Regions from separate parts of the Homo sapiens genome. Here region 1 is linked to region 2. Evidence: promoter capture Hi-C in 16 types of primary human blood cells and fetal thymus (Javierre and others, 2016). All regions are on one chromosome and are shown on one strand. Each heading gives the region's core, a stretch centred on a gene start or on the middle of the fragment in contact. The rest is flanking DNA. Distances are from core to core; before and after follow the strand shown.

Region 1 (5,584 bases), core at 1,214-3,713, 510 kb before region 2:
ACACTTCATAATATTGTCAGGACTAACAAAACAATTTTAACTGTTCTTGTTATCCAATTTAATTAACTTAAATATAATTTAATATCATCCAATTTAAATATAAATATTTAATTAAATATAACCTTATACACAATAAGTAGTCAATAAATGTCAGCTATTATTTGTTGAATGAATACAGGAATGTACAAAAATAAACATGGGAAAACTTTCATAGAACTTACTCTTTTTCTCTGTTTCTGACATAAACATCACTGCCATATCAAACCTTTTTAGTTCAGAAAGTCTTTGTAAGATTTCAAAGATGAGTAATGGCTTTTCTTTCCTGAAATAATCCAAATATAGAAACAAATGATCAGTTAAAAGCAGCTCATTTATTAATAATTCTGTTTACTAACACAATACTTCTAATTATACATAAATGACATCATTTTTTCCCCTGGATACCTGTATTTTAAATGCCCAAATGAAGAGATTTATCAAGTCAACTGAAGAAATTACAATATTCTTAAATGAGAGCTTAGTACGGAAACTATTATTCTGTGAAAACACTGGTCATTTCCATACCCTACTTTTCTCTACAAAAAAATTAGAGTCCTTTTTCCTCCCTTTTAAACTTTTCCCTTTTTATTGTCTGTACTTGTCATTTCCTTGCAACTTCTCTAACAATGAAACTTACAAGAAAGCTAACTTTGCTATATGCTGCTAATTTGCTATATACATTCAAAGAGAATCAACTTCCCAAATCATTGGAAATAGCATAGCATCATAAGAGTACAGTAAATTCTCACTTAACATCATCAATAGGTTCAGGAAAACTGTGACTTTATGTAAAACGGCATACTGTATAAACAAACCAATTTTACCATAGGCCAATTGACATAAACAAGACTTATGTTCCTATGTCTTAATCATTTTAATTAAAATTGCAGTTTCCAAAAACCTATCAATAACATTAAGTGAGGACTTACTGTATAACTAAAAAAAACTTGACTTACTCAATGTAAAAGTCATGCAGAATTTTAACGATCTGGTTGAATACATCTGGATCCAGATTTTTCTGAAACAACTTAGGATACAAAGATGGTTCAATTTGCTTGAAAAAAAAATAAAAAGACAATTACTTGATGGCAACACTTACATATCACAAATTACACAACAATTGCTTGGGTAAAAATAGTAAAGAATAACTACTTTGGGAGGCCAAGGTGGGAGGATCACCTGAGGTTGGGAGTTCGAGACCAGTCTGACCAACATGGAGAAACCCCATCTCCACTAAAAATACAAAAAATTAGCCGGGCATGGTGGCACATCCCTGTAATCCCAGCTACTCGGAGACTGAGGCAGGAGAATTGCTTGAACCTGGGAGGCAGAGGTTGCGGTGAGCTGAGATTGCGTCATTGCACTCCAGCCTGGGCAACAAGAGCAAAACTCCGTCCAAAACAAAAAGAAAAGAATAACTACTATGCATTAGCACTTATGAATAATAATGGAGTCACATTAAAATGCAATTATGATAGAAGAATGAAAGTTACAGGAACTGCATGATAATCACTCTATTCTAGTCACAGAAAAATCTTATGAGCAGAAGAGATATACACCATCCTAAGAGAGACAGGAAACTTTAAAGGCTCTCAAAGAGCAATAAATATAACTAGAGATTTTTAAAAGTAGAATTACATGAGAAAACGTATTTGGAAGTAATTTTATATTGCATAATTATTAGGAAATGTTACTCTCATTACACTTGAAAAGGACCATGCTAATTCATTATTTGCTAAATTTCATGGGATTTGATTCTTTTTCTTAAAGCAAATATTAGAAGAATGATTGCCTACATATTGCAAGCACTGCTTGGCACACAGAAGACACTCAATGTATTTTAGGGTTTTTTTTGAAGGATTAAGCTTAAGCTAATATATATGAAATTAGATTACGTTATTTGAGACAATAGAATTTGACATAGAATCTATTGCCAAAGGAGAACATCAAGGTTCCCTGGTTGTAAATATTTTTAAATGGTCTGACCAGGGTGATGTATTCTACAATAATTTCTACAATAATATCCTATAAAAAGCAAATACGGCACCATTATTATAAAGTGACAGAAGTTCTCTGACCTTTTACTTACAACAGAAGTACTACCTTCCTCTCTCTTACCTTTAAATACTGATACAACATATCTGGAGAACTTTTCAATTGTCTGAAATCAGATTCGAGCTGGAACGAGTTTGCAGGAATTGGAGGAAGAACAGTTGTGGCAAACTGAGCAGGTTTTTGTTCTATCTCTATGGGCATTTTCTCGCTGTAAGACTGACATACATCCTGCTTCAAACTGGCTTGAGGTCTGAAATATTTCAGAGGTATCAAACAGAAAAGAACCATAAATAATCATAGCTCAATCAAGGAGACATCAATAAAAATTTTTAAATTTTTGACTATTAATATTGTATTATCTATTTGTATTATACAAGCATTCAATTATTTCAGCTAATAATATATAAACATTTTTTGGCAAAACAGATTATGCTCTTGCAAATTTTCACATGCTGGCTATGTAATGACTATTCTCCTCTGCTGGGCAGCTAACCTATCCACCTTTTGAGTATACCATTTCTATATATTTCAATTACCATGTCACATACACTAATGATTTAGCCTTTCAAAGATCTAAATGATCATTTTCAAGATATTCCAAAAAGGAAGAAATGCTTCTTCCAAAAAAAACTGCCTATATAGTATTGTCCCATGATCTATACTATCACTTTAAATAAAAGTACTACTAAAGTTCAAAGTTTAAAAGAAAAAAACAACTTTTAGCAGGTTTGTTGAGTGGCAATGTAAAAATATATGAGTAAGGTTTCCATACCTCAAAATGAACCTAATTAGTCTATATCTTCTATATTCTCATTATCAAGAAAAAACACATAAACTATTTTTTAAATGCCAAACAAAAGTTAGAGTCCACAACAGTCTTAAATACTAATGGATGAAATAATGGCAATCCATAAATTCTACATTTTTATGAAGCTTCCTTTTAAAAAACTAAAATTTTGCTGAACTAAATAATAAAACTGAAATCCTAGAAATGAAAATTTTTAAACAAAATCAATTTTCAAGATACCTTCTTATCTTTAAATTTCACACTGTGGTTAAAAAAAAAATAGTAATCATTCTTTAAGCAAAATCACCCTTACAATAAGTACAAACAAAAAAGAAAAGCTAGAAACTTAAGTTAGGCAGTTCAAAAAATTAGCATGATGAGTACAAATCAGAAGTCTCAGTAATATCAATTCTCCATTGGAATTAACCCATTCTGGATGATCAGCAAATAACAGTATTTCTACTCACTGCAGGGATGAAGTATCACTGACTTCTTCTATTTTCAATACTTTTGCTCTTGGAGTATCACTTGTGGGAAAAAGGTCATCTTGGCTTGAATTCTTCTTACTTGTGGTGCCTGTGGCTGCTATTACATTTGCTAGATTAATAGGATTATTCTCTGGAGCAGCAGCAGTAGTGCTATCTGGCACATCAATAGTCTGTATCAAATTACCAGTTTCTTCAATAATAACCTTCTTGAGTGGTTTCTAAAACAATTAAAATCAATTCCTTAAATCAAAATATTAAAGGTTTCCTATTTTAGGGTCACAAGTTAAAAGGCTGCAATGATCTTACAGCTAATATCCCAGTGATTAGTAAATTCAATTTGGTGGCTAGACAGACTTAGAAGTCTGAGAATACAAAAATAAAAAGCTATACAAAGCACTTATCCCAGGTAGGTCGAAACAAGGGAGAGAGACATGTATACGTAAATATATAAGGCCATGGTCATGTTTAAGAGATGAAAGCACAAAACGCTAAGAGAACACAGGAAGGAAGATAAACACTGGCATGAGGGAAGCCTTCACAGAAAAAGCACACAGGAATGGCAAAGTTGAAGGGTGCAGCACAGTCAGTGGAAAGGTGAGAAGTCCAGTGGGGCTGGTGCACGGCACGGCATGGTGGAGATGAAGCCTCAAAGGCAGTTTGAAGACAGCTTATGAAGGGACTTGGATGCCATGAAAGGAGTCTGGACTCTATTCTAGGGGCAATACAGCAAAGAAATTACCAAACCAACAGCAGTATTGTGGACTAACTGAAGGCAAGTGGAATAAGGGCAGACAATAACCAGCATTATGTATGGGATAGACTATCATTAAAACCTAAACACATTGTCTCAATATATAGCAGCTGGATAAAACTAGCCCAGGATTAAAAATCTGCCAAGTAATATTCACAAAGTTGGTAAAAGTAAACCCTTTTTTCCAATTTAATAAAATAAATGGCTTTCATTGTTTATCTCAATCACTACACACGTGTCATTTTCAACTTATGTTGATATTTAATAATATATGTATATCTAATAAAATATAACAATATTCTTCACTATATCATCATACCAAACACACAGAAATACACTGAGGAGCTATTGTTACACCAAGGGCATTGAAAAATGAAACAAGTTAAGAAAAGCTTCTTCTAAAATTTGCAAATATTGATTAACAGTTGCAGCTATATACTTTTGTATATGTTTGAAATTTGTTTTAGCTTTAGAAAAGAGAAGAAAACTTTCCTCAATGTACTCTAAGTATACATTCCAACTACATAGTTGAATTATAAATTGAAAAGTTGTAAATATAAGCACTTCTTCTTCTGCAATAGATAACAAACTCAATGTTAAAACCAGAAATTCCATTAATGCAGCTAAGATATGACCCCAATGGTAATAAATGAGTGTTACTAAACGAAGGTACAAAAATGAAAAAGCTGTAAGAAAATTTATAACAGAATTCTTCAAGCAGTTCTATTTTAAAGAATAATCATATTAAGTTAAGGCCTATGCTTTGCTAAGAACTGTATCAGCAAAAGTTTTTATGAAGATACTGATCAAGAATGGATATGTGTATTAAACCCTATCCTTGACAACAGATATGTAAATAATGATTTGAATTTATGAATTTCCTAATCATTGGTCTCTGTTAAGTGTAGACCCGGGGTACTGAGAGCCACTGAGGGTCACTGATGACAGCTGGAAGGACTGTGGGGAAGAACAGTATGCTAGTAACAGGAGTAAACCATAAAAGAAACCACTATAGAAAGAACTTAAGAAAATATGAAAGGTTCAATTCACTCCTTTTTTAAAATCATGACTCGGAAGCGTAACATTTTATTTAGTTGTATATTGTGACCATTTAAAAAAAAAGTGAGAGAGAGAGAGAAGAACAAAGGAATAAAGAGAAAAAGGGACCAAACAGGTGAAGTTTTGACATCAGGAAACAGACAAATGAAGAAAAAAAAAGGAAATAAAGCAAAATAAGATATTTTAGCAGAGACAAAAGGATCAGGAAAACTTTCACTTATTACCACTCTCAGGGGAAACCCCAGGCCCAAGTTCACCTACATCTCTGCTCTCCTACCCTCTGTCTAGAGGTTTGCTAAAAATACCTCCAAGCTGCCAGCCCTTCAAGCACAGACTACCCTGCCCTAGCCTTTCATTTCAATAATCCTGAGACTCATTCTCTTCTCTACTTTCCGTAGTCTTCCT
Region 2 (5,118 bases), core at 1,960-4,459:
AGGCCTGTAACCCATCTAGCTGACTGAGGCTCTGCCTCTGTTCTCCTTATTCTCCTTATTTTCCTGAGACTAGACTTTTCTACCTCATCTCATTTTCACACAGAGTTCCTGAAATGATCTGGTTTTCTATCAGATGCACCAATGTCTCCTTCCTATATTTTCTTTTTCTTTTCTTTTCTCTTTTCTTTTCTTTTCCTTCCCCTTCCCCTTCCCTTTCCCTTTCTTTCTCTTTCTTTCTTTCCTTCTTTCTTTTCTTTCTTTCTTTCTTTCTTTTCTTTCTTTTTCTTTCTTTCTTTTTCTTTCTTTCTTTTCTCTCTCTCTCTCTCTCTCTTTCTTTCTTTCGACTAAGTCTTGCTCTGTCACCCAGGCTGGAGTGCAGTGGCACAATCTTGGCTCACTGCAACCTCTGCCTCCTGGGTTTGAGCGACTGTCCTGCCTCAGCCTCTGGAGTAGCTGGGATTACAGGTGCCCACCACCATGCCCAGCTAATTTTTGTGTTTTTAGTACAGACAGGGCTTCACCATGTTGACCAGGCTGATCTCAAACTACTGATCTTAAGTGATCCACCCACCTCAGCCTCCCACAATGCTGGGATTACAGGCATGAGCCACCGCACCCAGCCACCTTCCTATATTTTCAAATCCTGCTACTGGTCCACTCCCCCAGTTCCCACCTACCCTTGGCTCTCAAATGTTTGACCTGGAACTTGACTGGACCAGCCAAACTGCTTGATCTCTGCACATGTTTCCCATGGCCTTTTGTGCTTCTCCAATAATTTCCCCTCCCTCTGGGCTCAGATCCCTTGTACTCTCAGTGGACTTCATGGCCAGCACCTCTGGACAGCATGATGTAATCTTATGCTGAAAGCCTTCACATCCTCAAGAATAGTGGCAAAAGGCCTTGTATGATGACATACCATAGCTCCTCCTGTATGGGGGCTATGCTTAGTGTAAGCTTATGGGATTTCAACAATGAGAGGTCCCCCACTGGGACAGAGTCACTCTTTGTAGGTAGAAGGTAGGGATATACCTGAAGGGTGAATTGGCAAGATGAAATCTTCCATGTGAAGTGCTTGTCAAGAGATGTAAAGTAACAGACCTAGACAGAAAGTCTGAAAGCCATGCCAGTCTTTTCTGGCTATAGCAGAGCTCTCCTCGGAAGGATGAAAGCAGGGTTGGACCTATAAGCCCTGAGAACATGCTTGCTGTAGTATAATCAGAAACTTATGCTGTGTAAGCTCAGCTGTTTTCATGTGTTCTGTTTCTATTTCTAGTTTTCCTATAGTTTTTAATAAAGTCTCTTTGTAAACACCAGCCCACTTCAGCTGTGCTTATGGAAACCAAGGAAAAGCATTTCTGTCCTCTCTTGAGCCAGAGTTTCAGGAGTAATCTAAGGTGTTATTACCACGTGTGGGGTACAGAGCAGAGGTAGGAGTCCTAAGCAAGGTGAGAGTGCTGGAAATCTGTAGAATGAAGGAAGAAATGAGCAAGCAAATAGAATTGAATCATTAGTTTCAGAAAATACAATACTGTGTTTTTAAAATTTGTTCATATATTTGTTTTGGGAAATCAAATTTTTAATGGCTGCATAATACTTTATGTATCAGCAATTTTGCCTTAGTTTATTTAAACATTCTGCTGCTGGTCATTTAGGATAGTCCCCACTTGTTTCTATTTTAAAAGCAGTAAGATTGGTATAGGTCAAGCAGTCCTCTAGTGTCACAAAACTTTCCCTGGGCCAGCCTCACTCTTCATCACCAAGCACATAACCAGGGAAACCCAAAGGTAACACATTTGCTGTCACTGAACCGCCAGTCTACAAAACACTCACCTTTACGTAGTTCTTCTCTATCTTGAAGTGATATAGTTTGTTTCTCTTTCCCAGATTTATTCTTATGAACTTCATTTTTGGCTTCCGATCACTTGGCTTCCCTAATTTCCTAGGGTCATTATTAATTATTGTGCTCTGCCCAGGTGCTGATTCCTTCTCAATCTGCAATCATCTACGTATATTAAAGACAATTTTTCTTCTTCCTCCACCCTTCCTGCTCCACCCCTTAAATAGGGAAAGGGCTTGTCACAAAGGTTGGGGATACTCAGTGTATGTCTGAACTTGGGCACTGAAAGAGAGAGCGGGAATTACTCTAACACACAGTCCCCCCATCCATACCCTCCACACAACGGTCAACAGTTTACCTTTTCACCTGTGAGATGATGCAGACTGTTATTCAGAATTAGAAATAGTATTATAGATTATCCAGTCCAATTCCCTAACAGATGAGGAAAATGATGTGGCCAAGGTCGCTGAATGAATAAGTGGCAGAAACGAAACTGAATTCAGGTCTCCTAAAACCCACTACGTTTGGCTTGGGGAGTTCTGGATGAGAGCGTGGGACTTGGTGGTTTTTGTTATTCATTCAATAACTATATTAAGCATCTACATACTAGGTGCCAGGCACTATTTTAGGAGCTGGGGATTCCGTGATGGAGGGTGCAGGGGAGACAAAAATCTCTCCCCTTATGGAGCTTTCATTCTCAAAACTTAAGCACTTGGCCTCCCCATCTGGGACAAACTCCCAGAGACCTGCGTAGGAGCGGTAGGGTCTCATAAAGGAGGGAGTCCCATCCTTCCCCCGCTCCGGTGATTTCTATAGCTAGAGGGCTGATTTACTGCAGAAACCTCCGTAGCGCCCTCCTCCTGCCTCTGCACCGTCAGGCCCGGTGGGTCCGGCTCCAGAGCGCCACCGTGCCCCAGCTCAACTCTGGGATCATTAGCAACAGCCTCTCTACCCTCTCCGCTTTCCTGCGCATCGCTGGAGGACAGGGAGGCAGGACTCGACTTTAGCGCCATCCTCTGAGAAAGGAATGCGGGCTGGAAAAATCTTTCCAGGGCAGTCTCGCTGGGTCTCATACCCCGGCTAGGGGAGGGACGATCTCTCCCGGACTTGGAGGTTTCTGCAGCAGACGGCTCTCTCATACTTCCCTATTAAACATTGCGACCACACGCTCTTTCCAGCCTTGGCCGAAGCCACTGTAGCGTCCCCTCTCCTCCCCCCACCCCGCTAGTCCAGACTCCAGAGCCCCACTGCAGCTTCCAGCCATCCTCCCTTTTTCTTCGCCACTTCCTGGTTACCATGGAGACACACGTCATTTACGTGCCGTGCGTCGCCTTGGAAACAGAGGAGCATCCGCGACACCCCCGGGAGACCCACCCCAGCTGCTGCTGCCACACTCGCGGGCGCTGCCCGGTAATGGCCTGGGGGAGTCCCGAGTCCGACGCGCCGCTGGCCTCAGCCTGGACGCGGACCCCTCCGCGAGCGCGTCTGTGACCCACGGAACCGGCAGGCGCTCTCTGCTTGTGGCGCCCAGAGGGCGGCGCTGACACGGGCGCGATCCGGGAGGCGAGGCAGGGCAGGGCACTTTCGTCCCGGGGCGATCCCAAGAGACGCCGGCTCTGGGACCCTCGCCGGGTCCTCGTCCCGCAGCCTCTTCTCGGCCTCCCGCGATCCTGCCTGCGCCCTCTGCCCAGGACTCGTCTCTCACGTCGGCTCCCCGCCAGTCTCGGGAGCCTCCGCTTCCCTCGGCTCCCGCTAGCCCCTCCCGGGACCTCTCCCCCTCCACCCCCTCCCCCACCCCGGAGGCCGGGCTGGACGCGACCCAGAGCCTCCGCCACCCGCTTCTGCCACTCAATGGAGGACGGTCTGCTGGAGATCATGACCAAGGACGGCGGCGACATGCCGGCGCCCCTGGAGGTGTCCACCGTGCCGGCAGTGGGGGACGTGATCTCCGGGGAGTACAACGGCGGCATGAAGGAACTGATGGAGCACCTGAAAGCCCAGCTGCAAGCCCTGTTTGAGGACGTGAGGGCCATGAGGGGGGCCCTGGACGAGCAGGCCTCGCACATCCAGGTGCTCTCGGACGACGTGTGCGCCAACCAGCGAGCCATCGTCTCCATGTGCCAGATTATGACCACTGCGCCCCGCCAGGGCGGCTTGGGCGTGGTCGGCGGCAAGGGGAGCTTCCAGAGCGACCCCCAAGAGCCGGAGACTCCTTCGCCTGGGATCGGGGACAGCGGCTTGCTGGGTCGCGATCCCGAGGACGAGGAGGAAGAGGAAGAAGAGAAGGAGATGCCCAGCCCCGCCACACCCTCCAGTCACTGTGAGCGCCCCGAAAGCCCCTGTGCTGGTCTCCTTGGGGGGGACGGGCCACTTGTGGAGCCCCTCGACATGCCCGACATTACCCTGCTGCAACTGGAGGGCGAGGCCTCCCTGTGAGGGGACTCCGTGGGGCACTACCTTCCCGGGCTGTCTTTGGGTTTCCGAGTGCATGACGCGAGGGGGACTGAACGGCGCGGTGCGGCATGCTTCACTTGGACAGCTGCTCTTGTGGGTCAGGCAGAGAGAGACTCCCTCGAGGAAGGATTTGTAGGGTGAAGGACTTTGGGAGCATCGAGAATTCTTTCTGCCCAACTAAGCGAATTATAGCGAACTGCGGAAAGGTGAGGCTCCGGGAGAGGAAGCGCCCATCTCTGGACTCCCATCCATCCCTATCCTGTCCTTTCCCCCTTCCCAGACAACAGGAGAACCCGTGAATTGTGTAAATAAAATTCTGCTTTTTCTATTCTGAAAAAGGACTTACCTAGGACCATGGCAAATAATCTCTAACAATTTACCTGGAAATTAAGGAATTGGGGGTATTTTGTTCTGGCAACAGGAAATTTACCCTTCTGCTGAAATCCAAGATATTCAGTGCTCTGCAGAAGCCTCTCCCCCTCACAGATCTCTGCGGCTGCTGATTGGTAAAGGAAGCTTGAGGAGGGAACTGCAGCCCTAGGAATCTGGGTGAATGGGGTTCCAAGGGCCCCTGGGCTGGGAGGAGCTGGCTATGAATGTGCATGAAGACATAATAGCTCAACCTCTAGGATTTTGCATGCAGAGCGGATCCTGCCTTGTCACTGACTTCATCTGGGATTGCTTTTCCACTCCCTGGGGCTTAGAGAACAAAGAGCCCGGTTCACAGGCAGAGACTCGGGGGTGCTCAGCAGCAGCCCAGATTTAGGGGACATTTGAGGGACTCTTGGGGCCGCAGCCAAAAACTGTCTCTCCTGGCTACACCTGCT

What was found. The method cuts DNA at HindIII sites, captures the fragments that hold promoters and counts their contacts. A CHiCAGO score of 5 or more calls a contact.
Region 1: a fragment that was not itself captured here is called in contact with the fragment with the promoter of CCDC184 in region 2 in 1 of 17 cell types (erythroblasts); the score reaches 5.6 in erythroblasts.

What each region holds. Positions count from the first base shown.
Region 1 is chr12:47,666,759-47,672,342 of GRCh38, forward strand. It overlaps RPAP3 (RNA polymerase II associated protein 3), which reads right to left. Exons shown (of 17, transcript NM_024604.3): 13 at 3,349-3,587; 14 at 2,158-2,344; 15 at 996-1,093; 16 at 222-322. Among named protein-coding and RNA genes, the nearest start is that of RPAP3, 36 kb to the right of the region's middle. RefSeq lists an enhancer at 5,415-5,564. The HindIII fragment of the contact is 1,123 bases long and covers 1,903-3,025 here.
Region 2 is chr12:48,180,435-48,185,552 of GRCh38, forward strand. CCDC184 (coiled-coil domain containing 184) reads left to right here and starts at 3,210. Exons shown (of 1, transcript NM_001013635.4): 1 at 3,210-5,118. The coding sequence starts at 3,689. The coding sequence ends at 4,273. The HindIII fragment of the contact is 3,853 bases long and covers 953-4,805 here.